4 separate regions of the Homo sapiens genome follow, and regions 2, 3 and 4 are each linked to region 1. Evidence: promoter capture Hi-C in 16 types of primary human blood cells and fetal thymus (Javierre and others, 2016). All regions are on one chromosome and are shown on one strand. Each heading gives the region's core, a stretch centred on a gene start or on the middle of the fragment in contact. The rest is flanking DNA. Distances are from core to core; before and after follow the strand shown. Region 1 holds the start of ACAT1 (acetyl-CoA acetyltransferase 1). Region 2 has its middle 4.7 kb from the start of EXPH5. Region 3 has its middle 21 kb from the start of EXPH5. Region 4 overlaps EXPH5 (exophilin 5).

Region 1 (2,700 bases), core at 201-2,700:
TTGACCTCAAATGATCTACCCACCCCGGCCTCCCAAAGTGCTGGGATTACTGGCATAAGCCACCTCAACCAACCTGATTGTAAGATCTTAATTAAACCATAAATTAAGAAGGTTCTGAACTTTTTTTTTTTACATCTCTAGAGTACCTAGTTCACCTATGTCACCTAGTCAATACTGACTGAAACCCAAGATAACCTAATTACTTTCTTGTGATTTCTTCACTCATCCCATGAGACTAACAAATAGGCTAAAAACTCATCTTCCCTGGAAACCTACGCCTTGTGACTTTTCTATTATCTCAGTCACCCAGGATCAATTTTAGACTCTTTCTTTTCCCTTGGCTTCGCACCCTCACTCCCTAATTGTCAAGTCCTAGACTGGTTCTTTTACAATCTCTTGCAAAGCTCCTACCGCCAGCACCCTTGTGCAAGTAATGTTATTCTACGCCCAGACGTAAGAACTAGAGTGACCTACCATTGCAACAAAAACAAACATATCAACAATCCCTACTTAACTAGGGTCAAGTCCATACTCACAACATAACTGGATCTCCAAGCTTATTGCCCCCATCGACCTAGAAAACTCAAGCTTCACCAACCACACCCTGAAGGTCTCTACCTATTCCTGAGGCTTTGCCTGACAATCTGTGGTGCGTACTCCCTTGCTTACGCATGTGGAGAATAAATTCTTTGAGACTCTGCCCCTGCTGTGTTCCCTAAACACAACGGTCAGAAGAGCGACAGCCCTTGGAACGCCCTCAGTATGTGAGCTTTGCTCATATGTCAAGTATAATTTATTGTATTATCTGAGTAGTCATTTGTTTTCCCTGATAAATTTCAGGCTGCTCCAAAAAACATCTGTTATGATCACATGGTGCCCTCTCCCCTTGTATGCCCAATGATTATCTATTGTATTAAAAAAGAAAAGGAACCTCTCCTGACAATAACGCACACAAATATGTTTTAAAGAAAATCTCGGGAGCAGCTGCACAGGCCTGCAAAGAGACTCTCCCCGATCCCACCGCTCAGGCCGGGCCAGCGCCAATCCTGGCGGTCCTGCCCGCCCAGACACGTGCCCTTGTTTGACACACCAGTAACGCTCATTAAGATGATTACGCCGAGACCTTGGAAGTAGAAACGCGCTGTAAAAATAGGCGAGTCCCTGGGTGTTATCGGAGCACTTAGGCGGTTTTTGGACCAGAACCCGTCGCGTGACTGTCCTGGGGCCTAAGCCGCGCGCCCGGGCCGCGGGAGCCGCAACGGCCGCGGGCTGGAAGCTTCCGAGGCGGGGACTCCTCGCATCCCGGGTCTGAGTGCTGTGGGGACGAACCCCGCTCACCTGCACCAGCCTCCGGAGCAGGGGGCTGCGGCTGCGGGCGCCGCTGCGCAGAAGTGCCGCCAGCACAGCCATGGTCGCAGAGGGCTGAGTATCGGCTCCACAGGCGTAGACTAGCGGCCTCCTCCCCAACCCCGCACCCCTAGCGGCCCGGCGCGGGCACCGCCCATCCCGCTTCCTCCAATAGTCGCCTCTCAGTCGGCGGCGATTGGCCGGCAGCCAAGGGCGGGGCGGAGCCTGGCGCTGGGACACCGCAGCCTGGGCCAGGAAAGGTTGACGAGTGAAGGACGTGGATGGAGACACTGGCGCTGGGGTCAACGAGCACCTGACACGCTGCTGGCTCCCGTGTCCACCAAGTCTAACCTGCCGGGGCCGGTGGTTTATGTGTAATCCGAGATTTTTCGATTTACTGAGCATGTTTCCCTTAGGCCTACCCAGCACAAACTCATGAAAATATTTTAGGATTTTTTTTTTTTTTTTTGAGACAAGGTCTCACTCTGTCACCCAAGCTGGAGTGCAGTGACGTGACCACAGCTCACTGTAATCTCGACCATCAGGGCTCAAGCGATCCTCCCTCCCCAGCCATCCCAGTAGCTGAGACTACAGGCGAAAGCCTCCACAACCAGATAATTTTTGTATTTTTTGTGGAGACGGGGTTTCACCATGTTGGCCAGACTGGTCTTGAACTCCTGGACTCAAGTGAGCCTCCCTCCTCGGCCTCCCAAAGTGCTGGGATTACAGGCGCAGGCGACCACGCCCAGCAAATTGTTGTATTTTTTTTTTTTTGTAGAGACTAGGTCTCCCTATGTTGCCTAGGCTGGTTGCTGACTCCTGGGCTCAAGCAGACGGCCAGACTCAGCCTCTCAAAGTGCTGGGATTACAGGCGTGAGCCATCACACCCAGCCGTGAAAATATTTTGAAGCAATCAAATTCCAGGCTCAGTCCAGATACAAATATGGGTAAAAAGGCCTCAGGTGATTCCAGTCCCCAACCTTCAACCACTCCAGCTGAGACCCCAGACATCATGGAGCAGAGACAAGCCATACCCACCATGCTGTCTGAATTCATGGTCCACAGAAACGAGAGAAAACAAATGGTTGTTATTTTAGGCCATTATGTTTTGGAGTATTTTTTTTTTTTAAGATAGGGTCTCGCTCTTGTCACCCAGTCTGGAGTACAGTGGTGCAATCATATCTCACTGCAGCCTCAAACTCCTGGTCTCAGGGGATCCTCCTGTCTCTGCCTCCCAAGTAGCTAGGGGATCCTCCTGTCTCTGCTTCCCAAGTAGCTACGTAGCTAGGACTACAGGCATGCTCCACCATGCTAATTTTTTTAATTTTTATTTTATATAGAGAAGGGGTCTTG
Region 2 (2,700 bases), core at 42-2,541, 480 kb before region 1:
GCCCAGCAACAAACAAAAAGGTTTCTTTTCCAGGTGTTACTTGATGTCTGCACAAGGATTGTTATTGAAAGGGCACTTCTTCTAAACAGAAAGGCAACCACATGGAAGTAGGTAGAATTGCTATAAGGAAGAATGTTCAAAGAGTGAATACTATAAAATGCCAGAACTGGTTATTGAAGTAACATAAAAACTACCAACAATCTTATTTCTGTAAAGCAGTTTAAAGTTCTCAAAGAACTTTCAGAACTGAAGTTTCTTTTTTTAAATCCAGTTAGGTTGTGACATCTACAGAGGTCTTTCATGGTAATATTAAAAGCCTTTATCAAAATATGCACACTGTGATTACAACTGTGTTATGAGTATGCATTTGTATATATGTATATACACAATTGTGATTATAACTATAGCTTTATACACATGCATACATGAGAAAGAACTTTAGAATGATATTAAAATATGGAAACAGTCCTTGAATTAGGATGGTAGGATTACAAATATCTTTTTTTTTTCTTTTACCACTTTGGTGTCATTATGCTACATTTTCAATTTAAAACATTTAATCCTTATGTCATATACGATGTGAGGTGAGTTCTGCCCAGAGGAAAGAGTTCCTCTAGCTTGGAGGCAGGGAGAGAAGAGGTAACATCTGGAAATTCATTTTATTATCCCAGAAGCCAGCCAGGTGTGAGGAGGAAACTGGGCAGAATCCCATTGACCACCTAGCTGGGAAGATCTCTCTCTCTCTCTCTCTCCGTCTCTTTTTCCGGAGGGCTTACCATATGCTACACACTTCCCAGACATTAGCACATTTAATTGCACAATCTTATGAGGTGGAAGGAGGTGAGATGGCTACCCAAGGTCACACAGCTAATAAATAGTGTAGCCAGAGCTTGAACCAAAGATACTGACTCCAAGCCCACGTCCTTAGGATGGAATCTGAACTCCCTTGCTTGGCCTAGCTCCCTTATGTTATCAGGCCCACACTTACTTCTCCAACCTCCTTTTTTATGTCCCTCTTCTGGATATTTACCACGGTCCAGAGACATCAGCCCAGAGCCTGCCAATCTCTCTCCTGCCTCAGCATCTTGGCACTTGCCTCTGCTTGGAAAGCGCTTCTCCTGTGTCTTAGCAAAGCTGGATCCTTGACACCCCTCAGGTCACCGCTTATGTGTCACCTCAGGGTACCCTTCCCAACTACCCCATGTAAGATTATCCCCTCCTCTTCAGACTTACTCTCCACCATATCACTCTGTTAATTTTCTTCATAGCGTTTATCACACGTGGTAAATCTTTTTATTTATTTACTAATGTATTATCTGTCTCTTTCCAAGGAAGTGCAAACTCCCTGAAGACAGAGACCTGTTTGCCTTGGTGCCTCTGCATTTCCAGCACCTGTCACAGAGCCTGACATACAGCAGGTTAAACAAATACTACATGCCCATAACAACTAAGCCCATTATCTGGGCAAGGAATTCTGTGGAATATTTCTTAGATGAAGATGAAGGTTCAAAAAGAACTTATAAATAGCACATACATCTACTTTCTACCCACATTTTATTCAACCAATTTGAGGACATTTGTACACGTAAGTTCTTCACATGTCTGGCTTCTTATCCTTCAGGTTTTAGCTCATATGACATCTCATCATGCGGGTCAGTCTCCAGCCTGACCACTCTGGCTGGAGCCCTCCCTGCATCCCTCCCATTCTCCACCCTGTTTACTTGGTTCACAACACTTATCACACTCTAAATTGATGTTGATTTGTTTATTTATTTATTTTTTAACCTCTATGCATTAGAAGCTAACGTTTTGAGCGCAGGAACATCTTGTCTACACAGCTCCTAGAACATTTCCCAATGGATAGTAGACATTCCATAAATATTTTTTGAATGAAGCCACACATGGCCACTAATTCGTACTCCTTCTTTAGTTCTAATAGTTTTTGTGGTTTTTTTTAACAAATTTCTTTGGTCTTTTTCCTAAGTAGATAATTATCATCTATGATCAATTTTCTCTTTTCTAAGAGTTACACCACATTGTTTTTTTCCTTCCCTATTGTATCAACTAGAACTACCAGAACAATGTTACACAAGACAGGGAATAGCAGGTACCTCTGATTTGTTGTTACTTCACAGACTCACCATTAATTATAATACTGGTGTTGTCTGGGACAGACATTCCTTGCCACATCAAGGAAAAATCCTTTCTAAAGGATTACCAAGTATTTTTAAATTTAGCTCAATTTAGTTTAGTCCTAACAAAAAGCAATCTTGAATTTTATCAGAGAACTTTTGATAATAATGTGTTATTACTTTGATCTAATGATAAAGCAAACTATGTTAATATTTAAATCACCTGAGGTCAGGAATTCAAGATCAGCCGTCCAACATAGTGAAACTCCTTCTTTAATAAAAATACAAAAATTAGCTGGGTGCGGTGGCGTGCGCCTGTAATCCCACCTAATTGGGAGGCTGAGGAAGGAGAATCATTTGAACCCTGGAGGCGGAGATTGCAGTGAGCTGAGATTGAGCCACTGCACTCCAGCCTGGCCAACAGAGTGAGACTCCATCTCAAGAAAAATAAAAATAAAAATAAAAAAATCAGACATTCAAGCAAGTGATGTGATCAGCATGTCTCTTGGCTTGGTGATTGTCAAGGATGGAAAAAACTAAGCCCTGTGGTGGGGATTTGGCCAACAGA
Region 3 (2,700 bases), core at 36-2,535, 490 kb before region 1:
GGCTCAAGCAAACAGCCTGTCTTGGCCTCCAAAAGTGCTGGGATTACCGGTGTGAGCCGCCGTGCCCAGCTATTTGCTTTTTAAAATTTATATAATCTTGGGCCGGGCACGGTGGCTCACGCCTGTAATCCCAGCACTTTGGGAGGCCAAAGCAGGCGGATCACAAGGTCAGGAAATCGAGACCATCCTGGCTAACACGGTGAAACCCCATCCCCACTAAAAATACAAAAAATTAGCCAGGTGTGGTGGCGGGCGCCTGTAGTCCCAGCTACTCCGGAGGCTGAGGCAGGAGAATAGCGTGAACCCGGGAGGCGGAGCTTGCAGTGAGCGGAGATCGCGCCACTGCACTCCAGCCTGGGCGAAAGAGTGAGACTCCGTCTCAAAAAAAAAAAAAAAAAAATTAATAAATGCTCTTTATGTACAAATATATTTTAGTTTTATGACCATGGAAGAAATGTCATAAGTATTTTCTCTCACTTCATAAATCTTTTGTATGCATTATTAGGAGTTATATTTATTCCTAAATTAAATATTCACTCAAATAACATGCCCTAAATTATTGTGAATAGCTATTGGAAGTGAGGATGAGAGAAAAAAGTTTTCCCTTGGAAAAGCCTCTCCTAACACAATCAGCATGACAGTTGCTCTTGAGATAACATGAATTCTGTTATCTCGTAAGCAATATAATTGACTAGATAGTAGCAACAAGGAAAAAACCTTTTAAATTTAAAAAAAAGAAGATAAAAAGAAAAAAAAGAGCTTCAAATCACAGAAAAAACCAAAAACTTTAGTTTTGTTTTGTTTTGTTTTGTTTTGTTTTGTTTTGTTTTTGAGACAAAGTCTCACTCTGTCACCCAGGCTGGAGTGCAGTGGCGTGATCTCGGCTCACTGCAACCTCCGCCTCCTGGGTTCAAGCAATTCTCTGCGTCAGCCTCCCAAGTAGCAGGCATTACAGATGCCCACCACCACGCCTGGCTGATTTTTTGTATTTTTAGTAGAGACGGGGTTTCACCGTCTTGGCCAGGCTGGTCTTCAACTCCTGACCTCGTGATCCACCTGCCTCAGCCTCCCAAAGTGCTGGGATTACAGGTGTGAGCCACCACACCCAGCCTTAGTTTTTTTTTTTTTTAAAAAAAGCTTAAAACCTTATTAATATGGCACTGTGTTGATAAGCAAAGCATTTTGCCTGGACTTTGGTAAGAAAGAAATAGGCCACTTGTCTTTTTCAGCCCTTTTCAACCTTTTTGTGTAGACAGCAGCACAACTAAGTTTTCTCAACTAGCTAATAATCTTTAGCAATTTTGGCTTCCCACAAGGTGTCTTCCACACAATAGATGTCCAGGATATAGTTGATGCATGAATAAGTGAATGAATTAATGCACTTCTCAACTTTGACATGCTGGGCTAATGGTAGGCCCTTCACATAAGCTTCTTGAACTGACTTGACACTATCCTTAATACTTCTTTCAGAAGTAGCTTCTTCTCATGCCACCTGTTGACCTGGAGAGTTACTAAATAACCAATACTTGTATATATATCCCTGTAAGTGTGGCCCAGACTAGACTATTGGGTAATGATCTGGGTAGAGTAAGAATAGAGCATAAAACATAATTTCTTCCCCCATTATCAATGGCTATAAGGTCTTTTACCAATTTTAATTTAGTCATCACATAGTGACTGATTGATACGCATTATAAGCGGAAACTTAAAAATCATGACTCATCAGCACAAGTAGGCTATACATGTTCTGCCTGTTCAGTACAATAATAATTCATTTGGCATGTCTTACTGAGCATTAACACAATAATGAAATCTGAATGTATAACAGCTTCTTAAATTTTACTAGTTACATAAGTAAACTGTGTATGATCATCTTAATCTTGTTATTTGTGCACTTTTTTTTAAAGTTTGTTGTGTTTTGTTTTGAGACAGGCTCTCGCTGTGTCACCTACCCTTGACCTCCCAGACTTAAGCCATCCTCCTGCCACAGCCTCATGAGTAGCTGGGAGTAGCTGGGACTACAGGCACACACCATCACATCCAGCTAATTTTTAAAAATTTCTTGTAGAGACAGGGTCTCCCTGTGTTGCCCAGGCTGTTCTTAAACTCTCAGGCTCAACAAATCCTCCTGCCTCAGACTTCCAAAGGGCTGGGATTACAGGCGTGAGCCACCATGCCCAACCTAAAATTACTTTTCATTCTAGAAGTATAAAGGTTTTTGAAGTTTAATCTGATAATAACTTATATAAGAATGAATAGCTTGACTTCTCTGAAATAGAAACTCAGAAACACTTCTGACTTCTCTAAAATATGAACTCACCTGCTGCTGTGTGGCCCCCAGGTTGGGAACCCCTGCTTTAAAGGCTCGTTGGACATCTCCAGTGCTTCTAATCAGAGCACAGCGTGAAATTGCTCCTTTGTCAATGGAAGCAGGGATGTTGAGAAACCTAATGCAGCATTAATATCCACATAAGGCCAGGCACAGTGGCTCATGCCTGTAATCCTAGCACTCTGGGAGGCTGAAGTGGGCAGATTGCCTGAGCCCAGTAGTTCGACACCAGCCTGGGCAACATGGCAAAACCCCGTCTCTACTAAAAATACAAAAAATTAGCCAAGTGTCATGGCATGCACCTGTAATCCCAGCTACTCGGGAGGCTGAGGCACTAGAATCGACTGCACCTAGGAGGCAGAGGTTGCAGT
Region 4 (2,700 bases), core at 157-2,656, 440 kb before region 1:
AATTGATTCTAAGGAATTAATCAGAGATGGGCACAATGCTAGTTTTGAACTGGGTTTATTTCAACATTATGACTCTAAAAAATTAGAAATAACTCCAACGAGAGGGGAGTAGGATCATATGTTACAGTACAGAGATGCAGTGGTGGAATACTGACATAGCATAGCATTCTTAATGTAATGCTAAGTGGGAAACATAGACTACACAAAGCATGCATAGGGTAAGAGCATTTTTTGAAAATGCAGGCATACATAACTGACATGTGGAGCAAGTAGGAATCATGGAATATAACAAGAAAACATCTTTAGTTTTGTCTCTTACTATCCTTTTATTTCTTTTTTATTTTTTTAGACCGTCTTGTTCTGTCACCCAGGCTGGAGTGTAGTGGTGCGATCTCAGCTCACTGCAACCTCTGCCTCCTGGGTTCAAGCGATTCTCCTGCCTCAGCCTCCTGAATAACTGGGGTTACAGATGCCCACCACCATGCCCAGCTAATTTATTTTTTTTTGTATTTTTAGTAGAGACAGGGTTTCACCATGTTGGCCAGGCTGACCTCGAACTCCTGACCTCAAGTGATCCGTCCGCCTCAGCCTCCCAAAGTTCTAGGATTACAGGCATGAGCCACCGTGTGCAGCCGTCTCCTACTATCCCTTTAAATGCCACTGGATACAAACAAAGGCAGTCCCTTGACTTTTCTGGTCACTTTAAGACACAAACACAGTCTCAATTCAGAGATAATTAGAACATACGGTCCTAGATTAATCCCAGCTTTATTCAGAGGAGCAGCCCCTCACACAGCCACCGCTTGCTGCAGAGCGACGCCTAGGACAGTGAAGAGGATTTGATCCTTTTCCCTTTCCCCATCAACCTCTGCCTCTCCACCCCTTCAGTGGTGGTTTTTTACTGTTCCAGGGTTGAACCGGACGGTGGCTGGGAGGCAGGTTTAAGTTTGGATGGAAGGCACATGCAGAAAAGCTGTTGCTTGACTAGAATGGTTGTGAGGTGGCATCACTCTCTCTGGGTAGGGCAGATGTTTAAATCTGCCTCTTCTCTTGTGTGCTCGTCTGGGGTTTGCTGAGATGGCCCGTGGCCCGGCACTGTTCCCCAGCAGCTCTTTCCATGCAGATAATGTGCTCTCCCCTGCTCTGTGCTAGGAATCCAGGGGTTCACCCACAACCTCTTTCTACTCAGGTTTATTCACCCCTGGAGCTGACTCTAGCAGGCATGAACTAAGAGAACCCCATGCCTCCTCAGCCTCTCCTGGGGCCCACATCTTCTCCACGGGACACAGTCATACTGTGGTTGCTTGAGAAACCCTGGAAATGAGGGCTGATTGACAGCTGAGCTATGCACTTCATTCTGCAGTCAAAGCAACTGGCAGGCCCCAGTTTCTCCAGCTCAAATTTCTCAGGCAGGAGGCAGATACCAGTCTACCTTTCCTCCAAACCACAAGGGACAAAATTAAGCTCTTCCAGTCGTACCAGTTAAGCTCCCTGGCTCTAGAGAAAGCCTCCTCACAGATCCTCCCTCTGTCTTCACTCTTCCAAGTCAATGCATGTAAGGGGACTTAAACCCTAACTAGAGAGATTTGGCTTTTGTTTGTTTTTAAAAATCCCACAAAGCAAGTTCTCCTGATTGGTCTTCTCACAACTCCCTTAGATGTCTTGAATCTCTTGCTTTCATGCTTTAGCTAAAACTGAGTCAGAGTCCTAGTCCTGTGACTACTGCTTTAAAACACATGAATGAACATATGTACACACACAGCAGTATCTCTGACAGTGGGAGTTATGAGTGATTTCTTTTATTCAAGTTTTTGTTTGTTTGTTTGTTTTAAATGGAGACAGGATCTCACCATGTTGCCCAGGCTGGCCTTGAACTCCTGGGCTCACTTGATCCTCCTGCCTCGGCCTCCCAAAGTGTTGGGATTACAGGTGTGAGCCACCATGCCCGGCCCCTTCAAGTTTTTTCTTTAATTTCCAAGTCTTTTGCATTGAATGTAATTTTACTTTCTTTCTTTCTTTTTTTGAAACAGCGTCTTGCTCTGCTGCCAAGTCTGGAGTGCAGTGGTGCGATCTCAGCTCACTGCAACCTCTCCCTCCCAGATTCAAGCAATTCTTCCACCTCAGCCTCTCTAGTAGCTGGGACTACAGGTATGCACCAGCATACCCAGCTAATTTTTGTATTCTTTTTTTTTGTTGTTGTTTAGTAGAGAACGGGTTTCTCCATGTTGGCTAGGCTGGTCTCAAACTCCTGACCTCAAGTGATCCACCACCTCGACCTCCCAAAGTGCTGCGATTATAGGCGTGAGCCACCCAGCCCGGCCTGATGTAATTTTACTTTCACAATTACAAAAAAAAAAAAAAAAAAACACAGAAAAAATTGTATAATGGCAAAGCAAAGTCAGTTTTATTGACATTTGAAATTTCCTGTCCCAATCAATGCTGGAGAATTCCTCTGTGAACAAATTCCTACATGCTGCTTATGGCTGGATGTTTTCATTATGTTCTTTCAGGTGACAAGGAACATAGAGCAGTTTCCTCAAGGGATGGGTGGCACTTTATTGTCAGGATCTAATGGAGAAGTAAGGAAACACAGGAAACGGCCTCAACCCTGCACGGCCAGTCCTCAGGAACCGGAATGTTGATCAGAATACTGCAGCATTCTGGTGCCAATCAATCAACCAGGCTAGTAACCACAGGCTT

The links. Contacts are between HindIII fragments. The CHiCAGO score rates a contact against its expected background, and 5 or more counts as called.
Region 2: a contact is called between a fragment that was not itself captured here and the fragment with the promoter of ACAT1 in region 1, in 1 of 17 cell types (naive CD4 T cells). The highest score is 5.9, in naive CD4 T cells.
Region 3: a contact is called between a fragment that was not itself captured here and the fragment with the promoter of ACAT1 in region 1, in 4 of 17 cell types (total CD4 T cells, megakaryocytes, naive B cells and 1 more). The highest score is 6.6, in total CD4 T cells.
Region 4: a fragment that was not itself captured here is called in contact with the fragment with the promoter of ACAT1 in region 1 in 1 of 17 cell types (total CD4 T cells); the score reaches 5.3 in total CD4 T cells.

Annotation. Positions count from the first base shown.
Region 1 is chr11:108,120,317-108,123,016 of GRCh38, reverse strand. ACAT1 (acetyl-CoA acetyltransferase 1) reads right to left here and starts at 1,450. Exons shown (of 12, transcript NM_000019.4): 1 at 1,339-1,450. The coding sequence starts at 1,410. RefSeq lists silencers at 1,239-1,648, 1,250-1,788. The HindIII fragment of the contact is 9,706 bases long and covers 1,279-2,700 here.
Region 2 is chr11:108,597,088-108,599,787 of GRCh38, reverse strand. It overlaps a transcript of EXPH5 not described here. Among named protein-coding and RNA genes, the nearest start is that of EXPH5, 4.7 kb to the right of the region's middle. The HindIII fragment of the contact is 5,941 bases long and covers 1-2,700 here.
Region 3 is chr11:108,613,325-108,616,024 of GRCh38, reverse strand. No RefSeq gene overlaps it. Among named protein-coding and RNA genes, the nearest start is that of EXPH5, 21 kb to the right of the region's middle. The HindIII fragment of the contact is 291 bases long and covers 1,140-1,430 here.
Region 4 is chr11:108,561,932-108,564,631 of GRCh38, reverse strand. All of the region lies in intron 1 of EXPH5 (exophilin 5), which reads left to right. Among named protein-coding and RNA genes, the nearest start is that of EXPH5, 30 kb to the left of the region's middle. RefSeq lists an enhancer at 1,359-1,468. The HindIII fragment of the contact is 4,444 bases long and covers 1-2,700 here.